Linked DNA regions of Homo sapiens: regions 2, 3, 4, 5, 6 and 7 are each linked to region 1. Evidence: promoter capture Hi-C in 16 types of primary human blood cells and fetal thymus (Javierre and others, 2016). All regions are on one chromosome and are shown on one strand. Each heading gives the region's core, a stretch centred on a gene start or on the middle of the fragment in contact. The rest is flanking DNA. Distances are from core to core; before and after follow the strand shown.

Evidence for each region. Contacts are between HindIII fragments. The CHiCAGO score rates a contact against its expected background, and 5 or more counts as called.
Region 2: a contact is called between a fragment that was not itself captured here and the fragment with the promoter of PPP2R2B-AS2 in region 1, in 5 of 17 cell types (naive CD4 T cells, naive CD8 T cells, total CD4 T cells and 2 more). The highest score is 7.8, in naive CD4 T cells.
Region 3: a contact is called between a fragment that was not itself captured here and the fragment with the promoter of PPP2R2B-AS2 in region 1, in 12 of 17 cell types (total CD8 T cells, total CD4 T cells, naive CD8 T cells and 9 more). The highest score is 16.2, in total CD8 T cells.
Region 4: a contact is called between a fragment that was not itself captured here and the fragment with the promoter of PPP2R2B-AS2 in region 1, in 16 of 17 cell types (total CD4 T cells, total CD8 T cells, naive CD8 T cells and 13 more). The highest score is 36.6, in total CD4 T cells.
Region 5: a fragment that was not itself captured here is called in contact with the fragment with the promoter of PPP2R2B-AS2 in region 1 in 14 of 17 cell types (naive CD8 T cells, naive CD4 T cells, total CD8 T cells and 11 more); the score reaches 17.6 in naive CD8 T cells.
Region 6: a contact is called between a fragment that was not itself captured here and the fragment with the promoter of PPP2R2B-AS2 in region 1, in 5 of 17 cell types (total CD4 T cells, naive CD4 T cells, naive CD8 T cells and 2 more). The highest score is 6.3, in total CD4 T cells.
Region 7: a fragment that was not itself captured here is called in contact with the fragment with the promoter of PPP2R2B-AS2 in region 1 in 6 of 17 cell types (naive CD4 T cells, total CD4 T cells, total CD8 T cells and 3 more); the score reaches 8.6 in naive CD4 T cells.

The regions. Positions count from the first base shown.
Region 1 is chr5:146,561,055-146,564,897 of GRCh38, reverse strand. PPP2R2B-AS2 (PPP2R2B antisense RNA 2) reads right to left here and starts at 1,672. Exons shown (of 6, transcript NR_188288.1): 1 at 1,427-1,672. The HindIII fragment of the contact is 13,845 bases long and covers 248-3,843 here.
Region 2 is chr5:147,008,295-147,012,137 of GRCh38, reverse strand. It overlaps a transcript of PPP2R2B not described here. Among named protein-coding and RNA genes, the nearest start is that of PPP2R2B-IT1, 91 kb to the right of the region's middle. The HindIII fragment of the contact is 1,435 bases long and covers 1,472-2,906 here.
Region 3 is chr5:146,982,778-146,986,620 of GRCh38, reverse strand. It overlaps a transcript of PPP2R2B not described here. Among named protein-coding and RNA genes, the nearest start is that of PPP2R2B-IT1, 65 kb to the right of the region's middle. The HindIII fragment of the contact is 742 bases long and covers 1,229-1,970 here.
Region 4 is chr5:146,961,378-146,965,220 of GRCh38, reverse strand. It overlaps a transcript of PPP2R2B not described here. Among named protein-coding and RNA genes, the nearest start is that of PPP2R2B-IT1, 44 kb to the right of the region's middle. The HindIII fragment of the contact is 2,488 bases long and covers 734-3,221 here.
Region 5 is chr5:146,944,865-146,948,707 of GRCh38, reverse strand. It overlaps a transcript of PPP2R2B not described here. Among named protein-coding and RNA genes, the nearest start is that of PPP2R2B-IT1, 27 kb to the right of the region's middle. The HindIII fragment of the contact is 4,830 bases long and covers 1-3,843 here.
Region 6 is chr5:146,924,930-146,928,772 of GRCh38, reverse strand. It overlaps a transcript of PPP2R2B not described here. Among named protein-coding and RNA genes, the nearest start is that of PPP2R2B-IT1, 7.3 kb to the right of the region's middle. The HindIII fragment of the contact is 7,230 bases long and covers 1-3,843 here.
Region 7 is chr5:146,903,243-146,907,085 of GRCh38, reverse strand. It overlaps a transcript of PPP2R2B not described here. Among named protein-coding and RNA genes, the nearest start is that of PPP2R2B-IT1, 14 kb to the left of the region's middle. The HindIII fragment of the contact is 1,449 bases long and covers 1,078-2,526 here.

The sequences.
Region 1 (3,843 bases), core at 423-2,922:
AAGGAGAAAGGTGAGGCAGAGAAGACAGCCTCATACTTATAATCAATACCATTTATTAAGGGGTTAACTCTGTGCCAGGCACTGCTAAGTATTTTAAATACCCTCACAACAAACCTATGAGATGACGTTATCATCCCCATTTTTTAGATGGACAAATAAGTTCCAAGAGGTTTCTAACTTGCCCAAGATAAGAGCTGGGGAGACATGAAGGCAGAGCATGAATCCAAATGCATCTTACTACAAAGCTTATACCCTTAACCACCTATAAAGAATAACAAAACAATAAGGTGAGTCTTTCTTTTGGTCACCCAGAAGAGTCTGACTCAGACATTGTTGCTTCCTGGCACAAAGGACAATGAAATCCTTTCAAATACATGTGCTCTTCTGAAAATCAAATGCAAGGGCCTCCTGCTCAGTGAGGCCAGCCTGTATTTCTTAGTAGAAACAGAGTAGCCAACTGCTCAGGGCACATAAAAGCTATTTTAGGAGAAACCATCTCAGAATGGAAAAAGAAAGAAGGTTGAATCTTATGACATGATTTCCCCAAACACTGGTGGGGAATTGTTGTAAAATGTCTCATAAAATCCCATCATATGTACAAATGGCATGGACTTAAACAAGCTGAACAACGATTGAGTGAGTCATTGAACATTTGGGCTGGATTTCCAACAGCCAGGAGAGCCCCAGGCACAGTTCTTTGTTTACAGGTGCTAAACAATCCATCACAACCCCTCCTTTTAAGCTCTGTCCTCCCTCTCCCTAGGCCTACCTCTCTTGTCCTCCCTCTCATTCCCTTGATAGGTTAGTCTATGTGTTTTCTAATAACAGTTTCAGGTGACCGAAGTCATCTATCTTTCTGGACCTTATTTATAGGTAGGCAGATTCTAAATTTAGGCCTCTATAAGCAGCTCCAGGCAGACTGCTTGACATCCAAGCAATGAACAAAGATGAATGCAAGAGCACTGGGTGACTTAAGGTGTGCAGTAGATTTATGGAATGGTGGCTGTAGTCCAATTAAAAGAAATAAAACTTCCATTCTAATGCTACTACCCTAGAATTCACAAAATCTAAAATAACTGTTATTGACTTTACCTATACGTTGTCTATGAAATAAAAGTATCCTAGATCAATTAACATTTTCAAGTACTTTAGTAAAACTAACTCCCTGAAATTACATACATTCATCAAAGAGTTATATTTAGCCAGGTTTCACTAATAATAATATTAAGTGCCCAATAAACATCAGCATGTATCAGATCTCATCAGACTAAGTTTTACCACAAGCCTGTGGCATAGATACCATTATAACCACTTTAAAAAAAAAAAGGGAAGAAAACTGAGCCTTGGCGATTAAGTTTGCTGTCCAAGGGTACAAAAACCAGGCAGACACATGATTCAAATCTGAATTCAGAACCATCAAGCATACCTCAAAGACTGGAGCACCAGGCAAGGAAGCCGCAGAAGAAGTTGCTATGAAGGGGAGAGCATTCAATCAATGAGATGTCTTCAGAGTTCTCTTACATTAGATAAGGTCTCTATATTGGGTAGAACTCTACAAATGGTTTGATATTCTCTTAAATTCCCCCATACATACACACACTTCATTCAATATCCCCTAATGTCTAAGAATGTGGGCTTTAGAGTTGGATGGTCCCAGCTTCTGCCACTTTACAGGCTGTGTGGCCTTTAGCAAATTATTTAACCTCTCTAAGACTCATTGCCCTCATCATCTATCAAATGGCAATAACAATTGAACCTGACTCCTAGAATTGTTGTGAAGATTAAACGAAACAGTATACATAAAGAACTTAGAACATGGTAAGAATTCAATAAATCATAGTTATTCAAATGGCTGGCTTCTCTGATTCTTATCACCAGCTGAGTATGGCAAAATATCAGGACCTACTATGTAGTGTTTCATTTTGACAGGTGCAAGATTCCTTTATTCAAGTCAATAAAAACAACAGTAAGAGCAACAGCAGCAACACCAGCTAGTTTACTTTTTATTGAGCATATATCTGCCAGGTCCTGTAAGACATCTCTTAAAATCTTCCTAAGAAGTCTGTTTCCCATTTTACAAATATAGAAAGTTAGCCTGAAAGATGTTAAGCAGCTTGCACAGCTCATGCAACCAAAGAGGGCAGAATCAAGATCCTGAGCCTAGAGCTCCTAACCAGCATGCCTCACATAACCAGGATGCTACGCGTAACCAGCACACTACACGTAACCAGCATGCCACACATAACCAGCATGCTACACATAACCAGCATGCTACACGTAACCAGCATGCTACACATAACCAACATGTTATTCAATGAAACACTAGTCCCATGAGAGAATCTTCAGGGCAAAGGGGAAGGGGAAGCTCTGTGGTCATAGGAATAGGAGAATGCCCTTGCCAGGAGCATCACAATGGACACTAGCATAATAATGGCTCCAAGAAGTCTTTCCATATTCCCTATAGGGACTAGCACAGGTTTGAGCACTCAGTAGGCTACCAATAAAAAGCTCTAAATAATGCCATCCCTGCTCAAAAATATTCAGCCCACAAAACAGAGAACATAAGAAGAGAAAGCCCAGAGCATAGAAAAGATGAGAGGCTCATGGAGAGACATAGCTAATGAGAAAATCCTCAAGGCAGAAAAAGGCTGATATATTATGTGAGCCGAAATTGCCAAATTTTTCTAGATTTGAGGGTAGCCAAAACCTAAAACCCATAAAACACCTAGGAGCCATCCTCAGTTTCCCTCACTCCATTCTTGCCCACACTGAATCCATGGGCGGATTCTCTCTGTACACATAAGACCTGGCCACCAAATTCCAGAGCCTCCAGAAAAACTCGTGACCCCATCTATTTATTGCCATCATGCCACTGATAACTACACTGGTCCAAGCCACCGTCATCTCTCACCTTAACCACTGCAGAAGCCTCCAACTGCCCTTCCCGCTCCCATTCCTCCCCACAACTACAACCTAGTCCACACACAGCAACTAGAGTGACCTTCCCACCACCACCATAAACCAAAATATGTCAAGCATCCACATAAAATCCTCCAGCTGTACTTAGAATACAATCCAAATTTCTTATTATGAACTCTTAGCTCTGGACTGCACACTTCTCTAATCATCTCACACCACGCTTTCCTGCCACACTCTCTCCTTTCATGTTTGTTGAATGACCCGGTCTCTTTATCCTACCACGCTTGAACTCACAGCTCCCTTGCCTGGAACACTCTTTCCCCAGATCTTCACGTGACTGGCTCTTTCTTTACCTTCACTGTCATATCCTCGGAAGGGCCCTCCCTGACCACCCATCCTACCCATCTTCCATGGCATCATCACCCTCACAGCACCCACCGGTACCTGAAATGTCCCGTGTGCCTGCGTTTCATCATTCCCACTGGAATGCAGGCTTCACGAGAGCAGGGGCTTCCCTCTGGTTCACAACTGCTCCTCCATAGCACATAGTAGGAGTTCAAGGAGTATCTACTGAGTGAATAGATGGTTAGATGGTTCCTGGGTTAGTGCTTCTTTGAGCAAATGGAGTAAAGGGGTCACATCTAGTGGGAGGAAGGGAGACAGGGAGGCGGAGCAGTATCTGCCAGACCAGGCCTCCAGGAGAACCATCTACAGCACAGAGCCCTCCAGAGACACACACCCCTCACCCAGGAATCCTCAGAAACTCTGAAGAACAGTTCAGTGTCCCTCCCACAAACTGTGGCATTAAAAAATAGGCAGCTTTATGAGGTTAGGGGACTCAGAGTTATGCAATCTAGATTATCAAATTCACTCTTCACAACTTGCCACTGAAGTCAGAATAATCCCTAAATCACAAAATGAAGA
Region 2 (3,843 bases), core at 940-3,439, 450 kb before region 1:
TATTCCAATCAATAGAAAAAGAGGGAATCCTCCCTAACTCATTTTATGAGGCCAGCATCATTCTGATACCAAAGCCAGGCAGAGACACAACAAAAAAAGAGAATTTTAGACCACTATCCTTGATGAACATTGATGCAAAAATCCTCAATAAAATACTGGCAAACCGAATCCAGCAGCACATCAAAAAGCTTATCCACCACGATCAAGTGGGCTTCATCCCTGGGATGCAAGGCTGGTTCAATATACGCAAATCAATAAATGTAATCCAACATATAAACAGAGCCAAAGACAAAAACCACATGATTATCTCAATAGATGCAGAAAAGGCCTTTGACAAAATTCAACAACCCTTCATGCTAAAAACTCTCAATAAATTAGGTATTGATGGGACATATTTCAAAATAATAAGAGCTATCTGTGACAAACCCACAGCCAATATCATACTGAATGGGCAAAAACTGGAAGCATTCCCTTTGAAAACTGGCACAAGACAGGGATGCCCTCTCTCACCACTCCTATTCAACATAGTGTTGGAAGTTCTGGCCAGGGCAATCAGGCAGGAGAAGGAAATAAAGGGTATTCAATTAGGAAAAGAGGAACTCAAATTGTCATTTTGTTTTATATATTCCTTATAGACATAGTCTGAAGGTAATTTTACATAATACTTTCAATAATTTTGTGCATAGACAGCAAGTTATATAGTTAGTTGTATAGTTATATATAGTTTATTTGTGATATATATGGTGATATATATGACATGTTAAAGGGTGATAATTTTTACAGACAAAAGTTAAGCAATGGAAGAAAATGGAAAGCTCCTATGTAGGGATGGGGGGGGCATTTATAATTTTAAATAGGACTGAAAGGGAAGGTCCTACTGAGGTGACATTATAAGCAAAGACATGGAGTAGATGAGAAAATAAACGATGTGAAAATTTGGGATAAGAGCATTCCAGGCACAAAGAAGAACAAAATCAAAGGCCATGAGTGTGCCTGTGACATATAAAATACAGTAAAGAGGCCAAGTGGTTGGAGTGGGCTGAAGAAGGGGCAGTAGTCGGAAAGGCATCCAGAAAGGTCACAGGAAGGGAGCGTGGCAAGGATTTTGGCTTTTTCCCTCAGTGACGTGGGCAGCCACTGGAGGGTTTTGAGTAGAGAAGTGCCAAGGCCTGAGTCAGGTTTCTGAAGGATAACCCCGGCTTCTGTGTGAAGAATGTTTGAGCAGGGATGAGAGCAATGGTGGGAGTCTGGCCATGAAGCAGCTCAGTCCAGGGTGGCAGCTGTAGAGTAGGTTGGGAGTGGCCAGATGTGTGAACCAACTGGATATGGAGTAAGTGTGAGACACATAGAGGAGTCTAGATCAGGGTCCCCAACTCCCAGGCCACAGATTACTACCGATCCGTGGCCTGTTAAGAACTGGGCCACACAGCAGGAGGGCAGTAGGTGAGCGGCGGGCAAGCAAAGTGAAGCTTCATCTGTATTTACAGTTGTACCCCATCACTTGCATTACTGCCTGAGCTCCACCTCCTTTCAGATCAGCAAAGACATTAGATTCTCATACAAGTGTAAGCTCTATGAAAACTGCATGAGAGGGATTTAGGTTGCACACACCTTATGAGGATCTAATGCCTGAAAATCTGTCACTGTCTCCCATCACCCCCAACATGGGACCATCTAGTTGAAGGAAAACAAGCTCAGGGCTCCCACTGATTCTACATTATGGTGAGTTGTATAATTATTTCACTACATGTTACAATACAATAAAAATAGAAATAAAGTGCACAATAAATGTAATGCACTTGAACCATCCCCGAACCATTCCCCCTTCCACCCTGCCCCAGTCTGTGGAAAAATTGTCTTCCACAAAACCGGCCCCTGGTGCCAAAAACGTTGGGGATCACTAGTCTAGCTGACTCTAAGTAGTTCATGTACTCAGTAACAACTGTTATTTGTTTTTATGTATTGCTGGGTTTGTGTTTGTGTATGTGTGCTTTTATGCACCATATTTATAGCCCTTTTATGTCAACCACAAAAATTGGAAATTCCTTCTGACAGATAAATGAATGCCCTTGTAAAGTGTGTATTTATGAGTACGCACACCTCACTTTGCTCTTGATTAAGATTCTTAACTTTACAAAGTGCATTCTCATCTCATTTAATAGTCACAACACCTCTGTGTTAGAATGGCTATAGTGAGTATAAAAAATGCTTAAATTATCTCCAGGTCCTATATATATATGTGTGTGTGTGTGTGTGTGTGTGTGTGTGTGTGTATGTGTGTGTGTATATATATAAATATGTATAAATGTGCCTCAGAAAGTTAGGAAATAACCACTTTAACAATAATTTTACACTTGGGATAGTTGTTGAATTTGTAGCCATGTCTATGTATGCCAAATATCTGTATGTAACCTTAAAGTCTGTGCAATATTAAAATGAATTGAAAACATGTGAAGTGATATCTTTAGGTTTTCAGTTTTTCTAAAATTTTTGGTGTAGCTTGCATGTCCTAAAAAAAACTTGAGTTTTCCCATCATTTGTCTAGATGTAAAAGTAGGATGTAGATACCTCTGCCAGCAAACTTAATCTTTCCTTCCACCTCATCCTTCGTCTTATTATTTTTAAAACTGTATACAACATGTCAAGTTCTAGATTAAGTATTAGAATTTCAAAACAAAGAGGATTTAGATTATCTGCTTTCAAAGAAATATGAATTATCTAAGTATGTATCCCCTACCTCATTCATACAAGGATTTAAAGTGTCTTACAGAAGTATATAGGCAAAAGGGAAAAAAATAGAGGTGAGACTAAAAAGTAAATAAAATTAGGAAAATAATGTGAAGCCAGGAATGGGATCAGCATTAAAATGCACATCAAAACATTCTATTCAATGTTCACTCCAAGCTTTTTCCAAGCCAGGGTAAAGAGGAAAACAGAACAGAATTCACTGCTATCAACATGATGAAAGCTCACCAGTTGCTTATAAATAGTGTAGTTTTTCTTGATCTTCAATCATGAGAACAATTTCTCCAGCAGGTAATAAAAGCACATGGCCAGTTTTTTCTAAGAGCTTTCTAAAAGTAATGCAGCAATGGATTTTATGGTGATCATTTTTATAATATTTCTTAGTTCAGATAGATTACACACCATTCAAGCATAGATCAGTAAAGAGGCCCAAACGGTGCAATCTAAGGACGATGTGAATATCACTTCCCACACTGATGCTTTTCATAAGAACTGAGTAGCAGAATGATCAGGTTCTCTGGCCAAAAGCTAAGTTTCTGTTATTTTGCTGTGATTAAAGTTTGACAATCAACAAAACAGAAACTAGAGTTGAGCTCCTTCAGTGGGATGTAAAGAACTTATCAAAGATGATGTGTGGGAATAGAAACCCTCAAACATCTGAGGTGTGCCTTAAATGAGGCTGACTCCTCTGTAACAACCACAGGGACATAGGAGTGGGGGGTGGGGTTGAGGAAGGCCTCTTAGAAGAGGTGACTCTTGAGCTAGATCTCAAAGCATGAATAAGATTTTGATATGAAGAAGCATGGAAGCCCATTTTATATAGATAAACATCTCAACCTATGCAGAAGGGAGTAGGTTCACAGAGTATGTTGGCAAACAGTGGAAAGTCCTATTGAGTTAGGACAAACAGTGATCAGTAGCAGGCATGAGGAAAGACAGCATAGACACCAGGGTGAAGATTTATGAATAGACCTTCATAAGGTGTTTCATAAATATTTTATGAATTAAAATATTTTATGAATAAATTAACATTTATTCATAAATGTTTTATGCATAGACCTTCATAAGCCTGTGTTTCCTCCCCCTATCCCTTCATCT
Region 3 (3,843 bases), core at 350-2,849, 420 kb before region 1:
TCAATTCATCCATATTTTTTTACTCCAGGATTTCTGTTTTTTTATTAATACTTCAATATCTTTGATAAATTTCTCTGATAAATTTCTGAATTGCTTCTCTGTGTTTTACTGAAATTTGTTGAGCATCTTCAAAATAGCTATTTTGAATTTCCAATTTGCCTTCCGCTGCAATTTATTCAGGACCTGAGGACACTTGAGTCAGCCAATGGTGAAGTGTTTCAGGGCTCAGTTTCTTCCAGCTGCAGCAGCAGATTCCATTTTAGCCAGGGATAGGTCTAAGTACACCCTCTGTGGACATTGGCCTGGAATCAAGGGCTGCAGGTTTCTATTCCATGTTGTATTTTTCTGTGGCAAGTTGGTACTAAGTTCCAATGCAAAGTCTCACACACACTTTTCTCTCTCTCTCCCAAACTGATAGATTCTTTCTCTGCACTGTGCTGTACTGCCCAAGTTTGGGGGAGCAGTGTACAGGCAATGTGGGACTGTCCTTCCTCCCCTCTCCAATGTGCCTCTTCTTGTTATTATGGTAAAATCAGGTAGTATGATCTCTCACCTGATTTCTTTAGTTCTTGTGAAGGTGTTGTCTTACATGAATTATTATTCAATTTGATGTTCTTGTTGGGGGATACTTGTCAGAGGGTTCTATTATGCCATCTTGCTCTACCTTTTCCTGTTCTCTTGATTTCTTTTTTGTATAGTTTGTTGTTTTTGTATAGAAATGATACCAATTTTTGTGATTTTGTATCCCACAACTTTAGTGTATTTTTTAATTAGTTTAACAGTTTTTTGAAGGAGTCTTAGGATTTTTATATAAAATTATGTCATCAGCAAACAGTGACAATTTTACTTCTTCTTTTTCTATTTAAATGCCTTTTCTTGTTTCTCTTGCCTAATTGCTCTGACAAAGGACTTTCAATACTACATTGAATAATAAGTGGTGAGAGTGGACATGTTTGTCTTGTTCAAGATCTTAGAGGGAAGACTTTTCATCTTTTATTTTTGAGTATAATGTTAGCCGTGGGCTTATCCTATATGGCCTTTATGGTGTTGACTCAAAGTGAATTAAAGACTTAAACATAAGAACAGAAAGTGCAAAGCCGCTAGAAGAAATTATAGGAGAAAAACTACATGACATTGGTTTAGGCAATAATTTTTTGAATTTGACCCCAAAAACACAGATAACAAAAGCAAAAATAAACAGATTGGATTATATTAGACTTAAAAAGCTTCTGCACAGTAAAGGAAACAACTAACCATGTAAAGAGACAACCTATGGATGAGAAGAAAATATTTGCAAACTAAGGCCAGGTGCAGTGGCTCACGCCTGTAATCTCAGCACTTTGGGAGGCCGAGGCAGGTGGATCACGAGATCAGGAGTTCGAGACCAGCCTGGCCCATATGGTGAAACCCTGTCTCTACTAAAAACACAAAAACTAGCCAGGCATGGTGGCACATGCCTATAATCCCAGCTATTCAGGAGGCTGAGGCAGAAGAATTGCTTGAACCTGGGAGGCATAGGTTGCAGTGAGCCGAGATCACACCACTGCACTCCAGCCTGGTTGACAGAGTGAGACTCCGTCTCAAAAAAAAAAAAAAAAAAAAAGAAAAAGAAAATATTTGCAAACTATACATCTGATAAAGGGTTAATATCCCAAATATATAAGAAATTGAAACAACTCAATAGAAAGAAAACAAAGAACAGAATTTTACAAGGAGCAAGGGACCTGAATAGACATTTTTCAAAAGAAGGCATGTAATACAAATAGTCAGCAGATATATGAAAAATGCTCAACATTTGTAATCACTGGGAAAATGCAAATTAAAGCCACAAGAAATATCCTCTCACACCTGTCAGAATTACTTTTATTAAAAAAAAAAGCCAAAGATAAGTGTTGGTGAGAATGTGGAGAAACAGGAACCCTTGTACACTGCTGGTGGAAACGTAAATTTATGGAAAACAGTATGAAGCTTCCTCTAAAAGTTAAAAACAGAACTACCATATGATTCAGCAATCCCACTTCTGGATATTCACAAAGACATTAAAATCAGTTTGTCAAAGAGATGTCTGCAGTCCCATGTTTATTACCACACTATTCACAATAGCCAAGTTATGGAATCAGTCTAAGTGTCCATCAACAGATGAATGGATAAAGAAAATATGGCATATATACATCATGGAATACTATTTAGTCTATAAAAAGAAGAAAAGTATCATTTGTGACAACATAGATGGAACTGGAGAACATTATGCTAAGTCAAATAAGGCAGGCACAGAAAAATACATGTTCTCACTTACATGTGGAATCTAAGATGATCAAACCCATAGAAGCAGAGAGTAGAATGATGGTTACCAGACCGTGGGAGGTTGGAGGAATGAGAAGATGATAGTCAGAGCATACAAAGTCTCAGTAAACAAGAGAAATAAGTTGGGTGGTGGTCTTTTTCTGAGATCTATTGCACTGCATGTTTAATATAGTTAATAATGTATTGTAAATTTCAAAATTGCCAAGAGAGTAAATTTCAAATGTCCTCATTATGAAAATGACAAGTATTTGAGGGGATGGATATGTTAACTAATTTGATTTAATTGTTCTATATTGTGTTCATAAATCATAATATTACTTTGTACCACATAAATACATTTAGTTATAAATTATTAATTTATAATAAAAATGTTTAGAAAGAATAAAGGGAAAATTAAGACATTTTCAGATGTTGGAAAAGAAGACAATTTGTTATCAGCCAATCAACCCTAAAGGAATGATTAAAAGAAATCCTCTAAAGAGAAAAAAAATTATAAAAGAAGAAATCTTACCTTATGAGGAAGGAAGAAAAAAGGCAATATACAAAAATGTGGGTAAATACAACAGATTTTCTTTTTTCTGTTGTGTTCTCTAAATTATATTTAACAATTGAAGCAAAAATTATGACAATGTCTGATGAGGTTCTAAATTTATGTAGAAGAGAAGTTTAAAATAGTTATAAATGGGGGACAATAAACTAGTGTAAAGGGAGGTAAGATTTCTGTAGTTTACTAGAACTGGGAAAATGACGCCCCCAGGAGAGTGTGATAACTTTTGTTTATATAATGTAATATCTAGAGAAATCAGTGTTTAAAAAGGTATACAAAGAAACGCTCTGGGCCGGGTGCAGTGGCTCACGCCTATAATCCCAGCACTTTGGGAGGCCAAGGCGGGCAGATCACGAGGTCAGGAGATCAAGACCATCCTGGCTAACATGGTGAAACCCCGTCTCTACTAAAAATACAAAAAATTAGCCGGGCGTGGTGGCGGACGCCTGTAGTCCCAGCTACTCGGGAGGCTGAGGCAGGAGAATGGTGTGAACCCGGGAGGTGGAGCTTGCAGTGAGCCGAGATTGTGCCACTGCACTCCAGCCTGGGGGACAGAGCAAGACTCCGTCTCAAAAAAAAAAAAAAAAAAAAAATGCTCTGGAAAACACGATAGATAAACCAAAATGGAATTCTAAAAAATGTTCAAGTAACCCATTAGAAATTAAGAAAAAGAAAATGAACCAAAAAGGACAAAAATAAAAATAAAATGAGAGATTTAAAACCTAATATATAAAAATGTAATTGAATCTAAATAGTCCACATACACCAATTAAAGGACAGAAATTAGCAGAGTTAATTGAGAAAACGTAAGCTAACAATATGCTCTCTATAAGAAACTCACTTCAAATATAAGAATATAGACAAGTTAAAGTAAAAGGATGGAAAAAGATATACAAACACTGATCAGAAGAAAGCAGAAGTGGCTACATTAACATCAGATAAAGTAGACTCTAAAGCAAATAAATTTAAAGAGACAGAGAAGGACATTATAT
Region 4 (3,843 bases), core at 728-3,227, 400 kb before region 1:
AATTTTCATCTTATATATTTTGAAGGGAGTTGGTGGATGATTTTCTTTTGGGAATCTAAGCCTGATTCTGCCATCAAACTAACTGAGTGACTGTGAGTAAGTTATTCCTCTCTGGGCCTCAATTAAGAGGATGAGATTAAGAAAATATAAACACACAGTTTGTCATGATGTTCTGGTGTGTAGCCCCATCAATTCCATATGTTTAGGTGATGGTATGCTAGAATTGGAAGGAAAGTTAGAGACAAATGGTATATTATCTTCATTTTACAGATGGGAAAACTGAGCCCCAGAGAGGAGTGACTTGTTCACAGTCACCCAAATAATAGATGGCAGGACCAGGCCCAGATTCCCAAAAGAGGACCCTTTGTCAACTCCCTTAAAAATATAGGAGATGCCGGTCAGGTGCGGTGGCTCACACCTGTAATCCCAGCACTTTGGGAGGCGGAGGCAGGTGGATCACGAGGTCAGGAAATCGAGACCATCCTGGCTAACACGGTGAAACCCTGTCTCTACTAAAAATACAAAAACTTAGCCTGGCGTGGTGGCGGGAGCCTGTAGTCCCAGCTACTCGGGAAGCTGAGGCAGGAAAATGGCATGAACCTGGGAGGCAAAGCTTGCAGTGAGCCAAGATCATGCCACTGCACTCCAGTCTGGGTGACAGAGCAAGACTCCGTATAAAAATAAAAATAAAAATAAAAATAAATACAGGAGCTGAGAACTTAAACCAGAAGCTTTTCTAGAGTGGGCTGTTGCGGGCTGGTCCTGCAAGATAAAAAAAATATCCTAAGGTTAAAAAATCTGCGAAGCACCAAGTCAAACTATTTAGCAGGACATGCCAGAAGCGTTAATATGCTAATGTTTATCATAAATCTCCCAAAAGGGAATTAGAGTATTTATATTTTGCCAAAATTGTTTAACCTCAAACTGTTTTTTCATTTTTTTCTTTGACTGTCAGATCTATGAACAGCTCACACAACAGTGTTTAATGGAATGCAACTGGGAAACACCAACTTAATTTTTGTTTTCTCAGTTTTCTGACGTATTTAGCCGTGGAATCTCATGTTTAAGAGGATAATAGGATAAATGTTTTGGGGAGCATACTTAGGAATGGCTTCACTGAGCAATGGACAAGGCAAAACTATCTTTGAACCCCAGTGTCCAGCTGACTTAAGGGCTACATTTGGATGGCCTACATGCCTGGAGAAGGTCAAGTATCATCAGAGGAAATTCAGCCTTGAGAAGGGTAAATTATTCATAATAGAGAGCTGTCTTTGTAAGAACCTTCTGAATGAGACCTGAAAGGTCAAGCTGTTACAATTGTTCTTTTTAGAGGACAACTCCTTTTATACAATATTTGAGAAATTAGCACAGATAGTAAGAGTTTAATACAATGAGTTAGGGAGTTAATGTCATTAAACAAAGCCAGAATTTTAGAAGTCAGACCAATATGGATTTGAATTTAGGCTGTGCAAGGTGTTAGCAGTGTGACTTTTGGCAAGTTACTCTAATTGACCTTCAGACTTCTTAAAATGGGGATAATAACATTAGTAAAAATTGGGATAATAACATTATCTATGGGAAAAAAAATGAAGACAGGAAATTGAAGGTGCCGTATATGTTCAGAATAATTGCTGATAAACCCCTTGGGGAAAAACTTGGGACCCCAAAGAAATGCTCAACTAACACAATATGTTCAATTAAGTGTTCTGCAGGGCAAAAGGATAAGAAATTCCAAGTGTGAGTGGAGGACTAACCTGGAAGTTCAGGTAGGAGCCAGTGAGTGGTGAGGCAGAGAGCAAGACAGGAGAAGGGGAAAGAGAGAAAAAACCTCACTTCACCCTCCAGATCCCTACTCCGTGGTGGTGCTAAGAAGAGGAACTCTGAGAATAAAAATGTTTGGGAGGAATTTTCACATGAAATTCCCTAGGCGATGTCAGCCCAATGTTTCACTACACAAAACCTCCATGAAGACAGCAAATCTCATGCAATGATTGTCTGCACTGATTCTGATTTTGATTTGATTTGATACCAGGTTATAACCACCACAGAGAGTTGTATAAGGACTCATAGGAAATGCCCCTAAATGGGAAGCAAAGCAAAGAGCTTGAGGTGTAGCTCACTTTATACAATTTGTTCTTGAATAATTGCCCCAATCCAATTTGTACACATTGAATCTTTTCTTGTTGAATTGCATCATCATCTCAAAGATGAGTCAGCACAGTAAAGGGGCCTGTGTTCTCTATTCAGCTCCACTAAGAAAGTCTGAGTGCCTTAGCCAGTTGCTCAGTCCACTGGGCCTTTGTTCATTCACCTGTAAAACAAGAGGTAGCAGGCATGGTGACTTATGAGACACATAATCTCATAAAAATGAGTTTGAAGTCATTGAGACCTGAGTTAGAGTCCCAGCTCTGCCACTATCTAGCTTTGGGCCTTTGGCAAGTTCCGCAGCGAACTTGAGGGTGATGAGAATCAAATAAGGTTATACTTGTAATTCTGAAATGGTATCTCTGATTGGGTCATCAATTGGTATTGGCTCCAAGGACTTTTTGCTTTAAGGTTGTTTTTTTTTTATTATTTTTATTTTTGCCCAGTCTGGAGTGCAATGGCGTGATCTTGGCTCACTGCAACCTCTGCCTCCTGGGTTCAAGCTATTCTCCTGCCTCATCCTCCTGAGTAGCTAGGATTACAGGTGTGTGCCACCACGCCCAGCTACTTTTTGTATTTTTAGTAGAGACGGGGTTTCACCATGTTGGTCAGGCTAGTCTCGAACTCCTGACCTCGTGATCCACCCGCCTTGGTCTCCCAAAGTGCTAGGATTACAGGCATGAGCCACCACACCCAGCCGCTTCCTTGTCTGGTTTTAATGCACACACATTCTCTTTCTCTCTCTCTCTCTGTCTACCAAATTCTTCTACCTTCTTCTGAAAAACAAAAGAGAAAGGAAACATTGGAAGCAAAGAGGAGGGAATGGGAAGAGTTGGCATGATCAATTTGAACTGACCCAAAGAAAAAAACAAGTGTATTGTGCTTCACAGCCTAAGTGTTTCTAGGGCTCAGAGTACACGTGTGGAAAGAAGAGCCCCAGCCATGTGCAGACTCAGAAGACCATACTAGATGGGAGTATGGGGGCAGGGATGTTGCGAAGAGTTTATTAACTCATTCCCTTCTTTTTGAAGTTCTAACTGGTTAAGAAAATTAATCCCAGACTAGCTAAATAAGCTTTTGCCAAAGTGTTTTCTGTTGAAAACACCTTAGATGGTGACTCCTTAATTCATTCTGTTCTCTAGGGACACACACAAGCAATGACCAGGAATTGCCAAAGCTAAAGTGAGTCAGACCACTTTATTTGACTAATAGGGACACCATAGAAAATCCCTTTTGCTTTATGATCCATTCCTTTGAAAAAAAATCTCCTCCATGGGGGACCAGTGTCTTCCTGACTATGGATTGCTTAAGTTTAAATATCCAGTACTGATGTTGGGCAGATTTTGGGCTGAATGCTCTCTGTAGATGACTGAACCAAATTTCAGGCTATAAAAATGGGTTTTCAATGGGTTAATACTCTTAACATATAAAAGGCATCACCAAACAAATATGAGGAAGGACAAGAAAGTACAATTTATGAAAAAGAATACACACCTGATAGTTATATGGAAAGGTGTTCAAGCTTCCTAGTAATTAAAGGAACAAAATATTAAAATAACAATGTGGTGCTAATTTTTACCTATCAGGTAGGCAAAAGTTAGAATCAAAAATAATATTTAAAGTTGTTACAGATAGAGCAAAATAGACACTTTTTTGGTGAAATAGTACATGAATACAATCTTTCTAGACAATTCATCA
Region 5 (3,843 bases), core at 707-3,206, 380 kb before region 1:
CAAATGAATGAATATGAACAAATCTCCCCAAATCAGCCAAATTTCCTTTAATGATTCATGATTTCTCATAGGAACACATGAATTTAAGAAAACAAAATTATAAAGATTAAGTTATTTCTTTTTTTCCCTTTGTTTTCTACTTAATATATAAGACTTAAAGAATTTAAGCCTTCTTTTCATTGTTACATTTATATTTTTGTGTACCTACATCAGGCACTATTAGAAACTAGAAATATAATAATAATAGCTAATATTTATTGAAATTTTACCATCTTCCAGGAACAGTATCAAGGACTTCACATGCATTAAGTCATTTCATCCTCCCAACTAACCTATAAGACAAATAGGTATTAACATTATCCCTCGTTGTATAAATGAGGAAACCAAGGCACAGACAGAGTAGATAATATATTTAAGCCAAACACCTAGGAAGCAGCAGAGCCAGTGTTTAAACCCAGGCAGTCTGCATCCAAAGACAGCTCATGCCCGTAACAATGTTTCCTGCCTCTGAATGTTGAATAAACATAGTCCCCAGTCTTAAAGCCTCATGGGAGAGACAGACAGTCTCAAAAAGTATTTGCATAAAGTGTTAAGGGTTTATAGGGTAAGGGAAACGATTATATGAACACAGCATGGCAAGTTTTAAATTTTGCCTTGAGAGGAGTAGGGGAAAAATATGAATGAAGAGAACTTGGCTTAGCCACACAACCCTGTGGTCTCATGAGTGCATGCCTTTGCTTATGCTACCACTTCATTAGGAATCCCTTTACAGAGAAGGTGATTGGGTTGAACATGAAAGGTGATTAGTGGGATTTCGCCTTGAGGAAAAGAAGAGAACGCAAGGGCATTCCTAATGAAGTGGTAGCATAAGCAAAAGCATGGACTCATGAGAACACAGGGTTGCATGGCTAAGCCAAGTTCACTTACAGCGGCTCCAAAGAAGGAAGTGGTAGATGGTGAGATGTGAAAGGACAGTGGTGAGAAAGGTGCATATGGCCGTTAGATCTCTCACAGAAAGTCTAAGTGATTTGAGCAACAAGAGAATGTATTGCCTCATCAAGCAGTCACAAAATAGGGCTGGCCCCAGGTATATAAGGCTTTAAACCATATGTTTAGTTAGGCACCTTGTGTCTTTCTTCTGGCCTCTCAACTTGGCTTCTGTCCCATTGGCTCTGTTCTCTGGCTGCAGCTCCAAGCCTCAATCATCTCATTACACAAAGCACCAAGCTCAGCGACTGAGACAGTCCACTTCTCCAACAGTTCCAGAAAAAACAGGAAATGAATTTCATTGACCAGATTTCAGTCACGTGCTGGTCCCTGTTGATCCTGATCCAATCACTAGAGGGCAGACTGCACAGATGTCTAAACCACATATTCAGGCTTTGGAAATTATGAAGTAGGCGCAAAGCACATGCAGGTAGAATAATGAAGAGATAGACCCCAAAGTAGAATTGGGGTGCTGTTGTCACAAGAAGAGAGCATAAATGCTGTGCAGAAATATAACAAATATCCACTGAAGTTGAAGTTCACATTTTGAGAGATCCTGAATGTTGTCTGTAAACTAACCAAGGCATCTGCCTCATATTATGGAATTTTTCCCTAAACGTTTAGTAATGAGCTTTGTCTGATTACTGACCTTGTGTAGATCTCTGGTTCCTTGGGGCTGAAACTGAAGAGCAGGTTGCTGTCTTTCCTTCAGTTGTGAGGATGTTCAACATAAAACAAGATGCAGGATTGAGCCTTGACTTTGGCTTTCTTGAGAAACACCCTCTCAGGCTTTCTCTGCTGAGTATTTTTTAAAGCTGTCTAAACGGATACCCCCACCCCTACCCCAACCACCCAATTCCCGTCCTATTGGCAGCCACTTTAGAAGGGAAGTGTGTGAGATGGGAATTGTTTAGATGGAAACAATCCTTCTGTAATGGCTTCGGCCTCCTCTGGCATGAATTGAGCATTTACAGTAGTGAAGCCATGTTTTATTTATGTTATTTCCTCAAGACCTCTGGTTAGCTTCTCAATTTGCAATGCAAATTAGACATAGAAAAGATTTTATATACTCTACATACAATTCTCCATACATCCACATTCAGTGACAAATTGTAATCTTTCGGCCTAACAGTTCTAGTGTAATTTTAGATAATAAAAATATTCACCACTTACAGTTCTAGCTTATGCTAATAGACCCACAGTCATCAGAGATGCTGAGACTAAGCAACAGACTTGGGACTCAGAAAAGTAACACTATTGATTGCACTGCCTTTTGAAAATGAAACTTGCAATGAAAGACTCTAACTTACACCCCAGAACTTGGAAGGAGGAGCAATTACCATGAATTCAAGCATCACTTGGCATGTGAGCTCTTGCTGTTGTCCTATCATACTCCAAGCAGTGGTGGGGGGACAGGGGGAAGACAGATATCAGAGCCACCTTTGAAAGATGGGAAAAAAAGACTTGTCTCTCTTCATCTGGTACTGCTTCAAGTTGATTGCTGAAGTGTGCACAGGGGTAGTTGGGCTATACTCGCTACTAGCTAATTGTATGTCCTTTTGTGTAAAGCTGTTGCTTAAGCGGCTACAGCGTTAAAAGGGAACACAGGGATAAAGAGATTTTAGATAAATCATTTTATAGAATCCACATGACTAACGGCTGGCTTGGCTCAAAAACTAAATTGTGAATTAGAATCGATAGCCCAAATGTAACAAATCTCACTCAGCCTCTGGTCACACTTCAGTCTCTGCACAATCCCAATATTTGTCTTTATAAGGTAAGAGTTGCCAGCAGCTGACGACACACTGACCATTAGGCAGGGGTCCATAGTAACACCTGGCTATTAGAAAGATCTGACACGTGTCTCAGCTCATTCTTGGAAACAATGGTTCTTCTTGCATACCATCAGTAACATTCTTTCTCAAATCGAATTGCCTTACACAATGATTTTCTGTCTTCAAAAATTAGACTTATGTGCACACAATATAAAACTATGTTATCCCTGATGACAAGGCTGAAAATGCTTTCCCCCACTGTCCTCTAAACTTTAGGAAAACAAATTGCTATTTTTATTTCCTATTGCCTCTCCAGTGGGTGCACCCTGGGCACACAGCCCTTAAAAAACATCATCAGCAGCTGCTATAGCAGCACAACTTTAGCTTCTTGTTACGAAAAGCCTCTGGGTTGCAGTGGGGAGCAAGGTAGTCAATATATCGGACTTGGACAGTGCCCAAACAACTATTACAATTCAGACCATGATTTCTGGCCCAATTCTGGAAAAGTATTTGCTTTCCAAGATAAAAATCTGTTTGGCAGAAAAGAAATGTTTGTTTTAAAATAAAATCCATTTGGTTAATAATTATCCACCCAGTTTTAGGTTGCTTTCCTCATTTCTGTAAATAAATTTTCCTACATTGCCTCTCCCAGTGATTGATGAAAAGTGGACTTAAATTTTGAGGAAGGAACCTGAAGAACATATCCAAGTCCTCACTACCCTGTTTGGTAATAGTTGCATCTAATGTCTTCTATTTTTCTTCCTGAATTAACTAGATAGTATAGTGTGTAGGAAGTACAAAGCAGGTATTCATCAGGAGTTACAGAGATTTAACATGGGTCATTAAAGTGCTGTATGTTGGCCTAATTTGAAAAATAATTCCCCAACTATGGCTAACGTATACTAGAAGTCAGTTTGTCTATCTGTGTAAATGAGGGTTTTGCAAATCTTAAGTTAGAACATATTTGTCAAAGAGTCAACACAGTAAGTTACAAGAGGGCATCTTTGGTTAAATAACAGAAGCTGATCTAATCACTAATTTGCCATACCTTTTCAATGAAAACAAACTATTAGACTCCTCT
Region 6 (3,843 bases), core at 831-3,330, 360 kb before region 1:
AGAAAACTGATATGATCAGCTTCATTTTTCAAAATGATCTTTCTGGCTACGATGCTGAGTATAGTATACCAGGGTTTAAGGATCACTCTGGGTGCCATGTTGAGTATGGAATATGAGAGATCAAAGTTAGAAGTAGTAAAACCAGTTGCAATAGTCCTGTGAAAGATGGTATTTCTCAGACTAGGATGGTAGCAGTGACCGTGGTAAGAAGGCACAGGGTTCTGATTCATTTTTAAAGTAAAACCAGCAGAATTTCCTGATGGTATGAGAGAGAATGAAGAGAATTAAGAATAACTTGATTTTTTTTTTGGTCTGAGCATCTGAGCAGATAAATTAATATCAATCAAGATGGAAAAAGCCTATAGGTGGAAGAGGCCCCAGGTGGGAACAGTTCAGTTTTGGGTATGGTGACTTAGAGGTGTCCTTTAGATTTCCAAGTGGAGATGGCATGTAGAGAGTTGGAGTTTGGGGGAGAGATCTGATCTAAAAAAATATATATATAAACCTAAAAAGGGCCAATAAATGGATGGGATTTAAAATCATGAAAATCGATGAAATCACCAAAGGAATAAGTGCAAAGGTTCAGAAGAAAAACTGTCACAGGAGCTGAGCTTGAGGCACAAGTAAAAAAAGACATGTTCCTCAGGAAACCAACCCCAAGCCTTGACTGATATGTGGAAGCACAGCAGATAGTGCGATGAATTATACATTTCAGCTTTGGGGACTTGAAGGTGGTCAGGTGTGGTGGCTCAGGCCTGTAATCCCAGCACTTTGGGAGGCCAAGGCGGGTGGATCACGAGGTCAGGAGTTGGAGACCAGCCTGGCCAACATGGTGAAACCCCGTCTCTACTAAAAATACAAAAATTAGCCAGGCATGGTGGCAGGTGCCTGTAATCCCGGCTACTCAGGGAACAGGAGAGAGTAGGCAGGAGAATCGCTTGAACCCAGGAGGCAGAGGTTGCAGTCAGCCGAGATCACACCACTGCACTCCAGCCTGGGTGACAGAGTGAGACTCCATCTAAAAAAAAAAAAAAAGAAGAAAGTATGGCTACAAGGTCTCATCTTCTGATCCATATAATGGCTGCCTGGAGTTCTGTCTGAGGAAGATTCTGAGACCATGTCTAGGGTTAGTGGGGAAGAAAGTTGCAGTCATTTAGTGATGTGTGCTAGAGTTGTGACAGGTGTAACAGCATGCAGGCAGCATCAGATATCCACCACTCCTTGCCTGCAGGAAAGGCCACAAGCCTAAGGATAGATGGCAAGCGGTGTTTAGAGAGTTCACTGAATGCTTTTACTTGCCGCAAGTTAATCTGCGTGGTTTATATCAATAGTACTATATAATCTGTTGCTGAAGTTATCTTATATGTGCAAGAAAGATTTTATTGCTCTAGAGCCACTAGCAAGTGTTGGACTTAAGTGTGTGAAAGGGGAAAATGAAGGAAGAAGAGAGAGACGAGTCAAAACCCAAGGCAAAGAGTGGACTTTTAGCTATGACTCTAGGAGGAGGTTGGGTAAATCCTCTTCCCAAAATGCAATGATAGAGCTGTGCAAAGTTGGAAACTTCAACTATTTGTGCTCTGGAAATCAGCCAAAGGCCTATGACAACCTGAGACGTGTTTATTTTTTAAAAATCATGGGACATCACTCAGGAACACTGGGAATCTGAGATGTTCTGACCTAGGGCTCCTCTCATCCACCTCAACCCAGCCTATAGGTTCTGCCAAGGTACAGCAAGCCATGATGACCAGTAGCTTCTCTGTAGATGTTGAAGGAGACTCAACCAGTTTGAAGAGCTGGGCAGTGCAGACACCAAGCAAAGTTGTCAATAGAAATGATCATCTTGGATGGGAGTGAGTTGGGAGGGCCATCAGCTCCATCAGCCTGAAGTTGCAGTTGTGATCAGAGACAGCATATTGCTGGCTGAGGCTGTGCATATGGGCAGTGGAGACTGAAGAGACAGAAGCCCTTTATATGCTTCTGGTTTACCCAAAGTCTCAATGCATGTGCATAGGAGACTCAAAAAGGTCCAGCAGATATCAGACTCAGGGGAGCTTGAAAAGAGCCTGAACTTTGTATATGCTCCTCTACCTGAAAATAGGTGAAAAAGGGCAAAGGATGGAAATCTTAGTGGTTTAAGGTGTTTGAACATAAATGATGTTCAATCATTAGCTGACCACTAAGGCTATACAGACACAGGAGCAACCTCTAGCAAGCCAAGTTTAAAAATAAAATCGGAGCCTGTGGTCCCAGCTACTCAGGAGGCTGAGGCAGGAGAATGGCATAAACCCGAGAGGCGGAGCTTGCAGTGAGCTGACATTGCACCACTGCACTGCCTGGGTGACACAGCAAGACTCCGTCTCGAAAACAAAAAAAAAGTAAATAAATAAATAAATAAATAAAATCAGGAATGTATATATATTTTAGACTAGCATAGGCATTAGTAGCCTAGGGGAAACAGATTTCACAGATTTAGTCCAGGAAAGTTACAAACAAAATACCAGCAACAACCACCATAAAGGGAAAAAAAATATCAGAATTCAGAGTCGTTGCAATGTGTTATCTTAAATGTCCCATTTTTAAGAAAAAAAAGTGTTACCCATACTCAAGAAAAGAAAAACAGTTAATAGAAACTCTGTGTTACCAAATATTCGTGGACAAAAATTTCAAGGCAGCTATTATAAATATTTCCAAAGAACTAAAGCAAGCCATGTTTAAAGAATTAAAGAAAAGTGGGGTAACAAGAGATCAACAAATAGATTCTTAATAAGGATATTGAATTTATTTTAAAAATACCAGGTGAAAATTCTGTAGCTGAAGGGTACAATAATGGTAATTTAAAATTTTTCACTAGAGAGTTCAACAACAGATTTGAGAGACAAGGAATCAGTGAACTATAAATCAATAGAAATTACTCAATCTAGAGAATGGTGAGAAAACAGACTGCAGTAAAATTAACAGGCCCTCAAAAACCTGTGGGACAAGCTCAAGCACAGAAACAACCATGTCAGGGGAATGTCGGAAGGAGAGAAGAGAAAGGGACAGAAAACCTATTTGAAAAAATAATGGCCAAAACTTCCAAAATTTGATTTTTTAGAAAATTAATCTATACACCCAAGAAGCTCAAAGAAACCCAAGCAGGATAAATACAAATAGATCCACACTTGAACACATCATTGTCAAACTGTTGTATGCCAAATCCAAAGAGAAAATCTTGAAAGCAGCAAGAAGAATAGCACGCACCATAGAAAGGTGAGCATCCATGCAATTAAGCTGGCTTCTCATCTAAAACCATGGATGCCAGAAGGAAGAAGAATAGCACATCCATACTGCAAAAAGAAAATAATGTCAAACAAGAATTCTGTATCTAACAAAACTATCCTTCAAAAATGAGGGCAAAATAAGGACATTTTTGGATAAACAGAGACTGAGCAAATGTATTGCTAGCAGCCCTGTTTTAAAAGATGTACCAAAGGAAGGAAGGCCTTCCGGAAATGGTACTCTATGATAGCACAAATCCACAGGAAAAAATGAAGAGCACTGTAAATGATAACTATGTTAGTATAAAAGATTCCATAAAATATATTTTTTCTCCTTTTTCCCAATTTCTTTAAAAGACATAGGACTGTGTGAAACAATAATTTTAACACTGTAGTGTTGGGTTTGTAACATGTATAGATTTAATATATAGGACAGTAATAGCACAAAGGAGGGAAGAGGGAATGGCAGTATATTGGAGCAAACTTCTTGTATTTTCTGGAGTTAAATTACTGTTAACCAAAAGAAGATCATGATACATTAAAACGCATATGGTGAACCAACCCAAATGCCCATCAGTGATAGACT
Region 7 (3,843 bases), core at 553-3,052, 340 kb before region 1:
CATCCTGCGCTATCTTCTGTCCTCACCACAATCAGCCAAGGAGCCTCTTGCCTTTCCTGGTCTTCCCTTTAGGCCTCTGTCCCTGCAGCGCCCCCTTCCTGTGTTACTCATCCTGTCTCCTGCTACAGTGTAACTCGGCTGGTCTTCTTAGAAGTAGATTGTCTCTTTAAATTTAATCAGCTGCATAAAGTGCAATTGACATTTCAAAAAATGTGCTAGTTTTAAATGTACAATTCAATATGTTTTGACAAGGGCATACAGTGTTGTAACCACTGCCACAGTCATGAGGTAGAACAGTACTGCCCAATAGACGTATAAGGTGAGCCAGGTACATAATTTAAAAGTTTTCCAGTGGCCACATTTCCAAAAAGTAGAAGAAAGATACATATATTGAGATATCACTCTGTGCCCCATAAATATGATGATGCATAATCATTATGTGTCAATTAAAAATAAAAGAAAAAGGCCAGGTGCGGTGGCTCACGCCTGTAATCCCAGCACTTTGGGAGGCCGAGGCAGGCGGATCACCTGAGATCGGGAGTTCGAGATCAGTCTGACCAATATGTAGAAACCCCGTCTCTACTAAAAATGCAAAATTAGCTGGGCGTGGTGGCGCATGCCTGTAATCCCAGCTACTAGGGAGGCTGAGGCAGGAGAATCACTTGAACCCAGGAGGCAGAGGTTGCGGTGAGCCGAGATCGCGCCATTGCACTCCAGCCTGGGCAACAAGAGTGAAACTCTGTCTCCAAATAAATAAATAAATAAATAAATAAATAAATGGAAAATGGTACAAGAAGCAGGTGAAATTAATTTTAATAATATATTTTCTTTAACTTAATATATTCAAATATTATCACTTTGTTATGGAATCAATATAAGAATATATTAAGGAGCTACTTTATGTCTTTTTTCACATCCATTCTTTCAAGTCTATTGTGTATTTTACACTTCCAACATATCTCAACTCAGACAATATATCTTTACTAGAAATACTTAATTTTTATTTAGAACTTATAAAATTCACAGCTGAAAAAATAGGTTCAAATGTCCAAATTGTTTCAATCCTGCTTACAAGCTTTCCATTATAACTTTTATTTCCATTTAAATTTTATTTAATTTAAATTATATGTAATTAAAATTTCAGTAGCTACATGTGGCTTGGGAGCTTCCATACTGGATAGCACAGAGAACATTTCCATCATCCCCAAAAGCTGACTCCTGCTATTTTGAAATCAATCCCAACCTACCACCACTGGGCACTAGCAACCAATGATCTGCCATTTGACTCTATAGTTTTGTCTTTTCTATAATGTTATATGAATAAAATCAGATTGCACTTAGCCTTTTGTTTGACTTCTTTCACTTATCACATTGATTTTGAGATTTATTTAGAGGGTATTTAATAGGAGTGAGTTCCTTTTAATTGCTAAGTAGTATTACATTGTATAGATGTACTATACCATTCACTAGTTGGTGGGCAGTTGGGCTGTTCCAGTTTTTGGCTTATAAATAAAGCTGTTAAGAACATTCAGGCCAGGAACAGTGCCTCATGTCTTTAATCCCAACATTTTGGGAGGTCAAGGTGAGATCATGGCTGGAGGATCACTGGAGGCCTGGAGTTCAAGACCACCAGCCTGGTCAACATAGTGAGATCCCATCTCTATTATAAAAATTTAAAAATTTAAAAATTTCAAACTTAAGACAAGAACATTCAAGTACAAATGTTTGTGTGGACATGCTTTTATTTCTCCCTAATAAATATGCAGGAGAGGAGTAGATTGAGATATGTTTTTATTTCTTCCTAATAAATATACAGGAGTGGATTGAATGGTGTGTGTTTAATTTTATAGGGGAATAACAAATATTTTCCAGTGTTCCATTTTCCACTCCCACCAGCAAAGTATGAGAGTCCCAATTGCTCCATGTCCTCACCAACACTTGACATAGTTAGTCTTGGCAATTCTAGTAGAGATGCAATGGTATTTCATTGCGGTTTTAACTTTCATTTCCTTAATGACTAATAATGTTGAGCATATTTTCAGGTGCTTATTTGCCACTCATATATATCCTTTGGTAAAATTTCTGTTCAGATATTTTGCCCCCATTTTTATCAGGTTGTCTTTTAATTATTGATTTGTAAAAGTTGTTTTAAATAGGCTGAATATAAGTTCCTTAGCAAACATGTTTTGTATATGTTTTCTCCCAGTCTTGGCTTGGGTGTGACTTTTTTGTATCTGGTTCCTCATGTTAATGTTAACCTGCTGCTGTTAAATGTGGTGTTACCATGACCTCCAGTACCATGTCCGTGCCCTCATTTTGACTCCTGGCACCTTTGGGTTCATCACTGTGTTCTTAACTGTTTCTGCTTTTCTCTCAAGGAGATGAAGCTACTTTTAGCAGTCTCTTTCATTCTATACTGAGGCTACAGGACTTCAAGCAGATGTCTTCAGCCAGTCTGTATGATCAGTGGTTACAACCATTACTCAAGCACCATATTGGTTAGACATGAGGTTTCTCCAAGAAGCTTACAACCTCTCTGGGCTATACTTTAGGACTCGGGGAACACGCTCCCAATACTGCCTGTGGAATTTTCTACAACTTTCCTCTAGTTCCATTAGTTACCTCCTACCCCAGGACTGGGCTTGATAAGCCTCATGAGAGGCTGAGTAGATATTTAATCTCTAGACTAAGCCTATTGATTTCCTACTTTCTGCCACTTGGTCAAACTTTGGTCTCCTTTTATAATAATGTTCTTATATAATAAACTTGCATTCTTTCCTTTTTCTTCCCCAGAATACTGACCTTTCATACTTTTAGGAACTGTGGATCAGTATTTAAAGGCAAGATTTTGATCTTCAAAAATTTTTTTCTCCTTCTTAGGCACCAGACTCTTACAGTTCATGAGTTAGAAACTCAAGAACAAATACAATACTTTGGTCTTTCTGGTTCTATAGGAGTGAGAGAGAGAGTGATGTCTGCATTCTACAAATACTAGCCTACTACAGTTGGCTCTCAGTAGTTAGACAAGTCTCTGAGAGGACAATCCCTGCAGAGACAAGAATATCACTAATTACTCTGAGCCAGGAAACCCCGGAGCATGTTTAGAAGATGACAATATAATGATCATTATGTTAGTCATGAAATGGGAAGAATCTATCATTTGGCACCATTTGGTACTGTGTGCCAACTCTGGCTTAAGCATTTTGCTCATATTACCCTGTAAGGTCAATAATTATTATCCCCATTTTGCTGTAGAGAAAACTGAGTATTCTGATACAACTTTAACTTTCCTGGGGTCAAAAAAATTATCAGTATCACTAGGATTTGAACTCCAGGTCAATCTGATTTTAAAGCATGTACTCTTAAGCATTAGAACAGTGGTTCTTTTGACTGGGCATGGTGGCTCACACCTGTAATTCCAGCACTTTGGGAAGCCAAGGGTGGCAGATTACTTAAACCCAGGAGTTTGAGACCAGTCCAGGCAACATGGCGAAACCCCATCTCAACAAAAAATATTTAAAAGTTAGACAGGTGTGGTGGCATGCACCTATAGTCCCGGCTACTCAGGAGGCTGAGGTGAAAGGATTACTTGAACCTGCTAGGTAGAGGCTGCACTGAGCCAAGATTGTACCACTGCACTCTAGCCTGGGCAACAGAGTGAAATTCTGTCTCTAAAAAAAAAAAAAAAAAAAAAGAGAAAGAAAGCAAGAAAGAAAAGAACAAAAGCAAAAACAAAAACAAAAAAAACAGTGTTTCTTAAACTATTTGGTCTGAGGACCACCTTATAACCTTAAAAATGATTGAGAACCTCAAAGTTCTTTAATTAATGTGGTTAATGTCTAT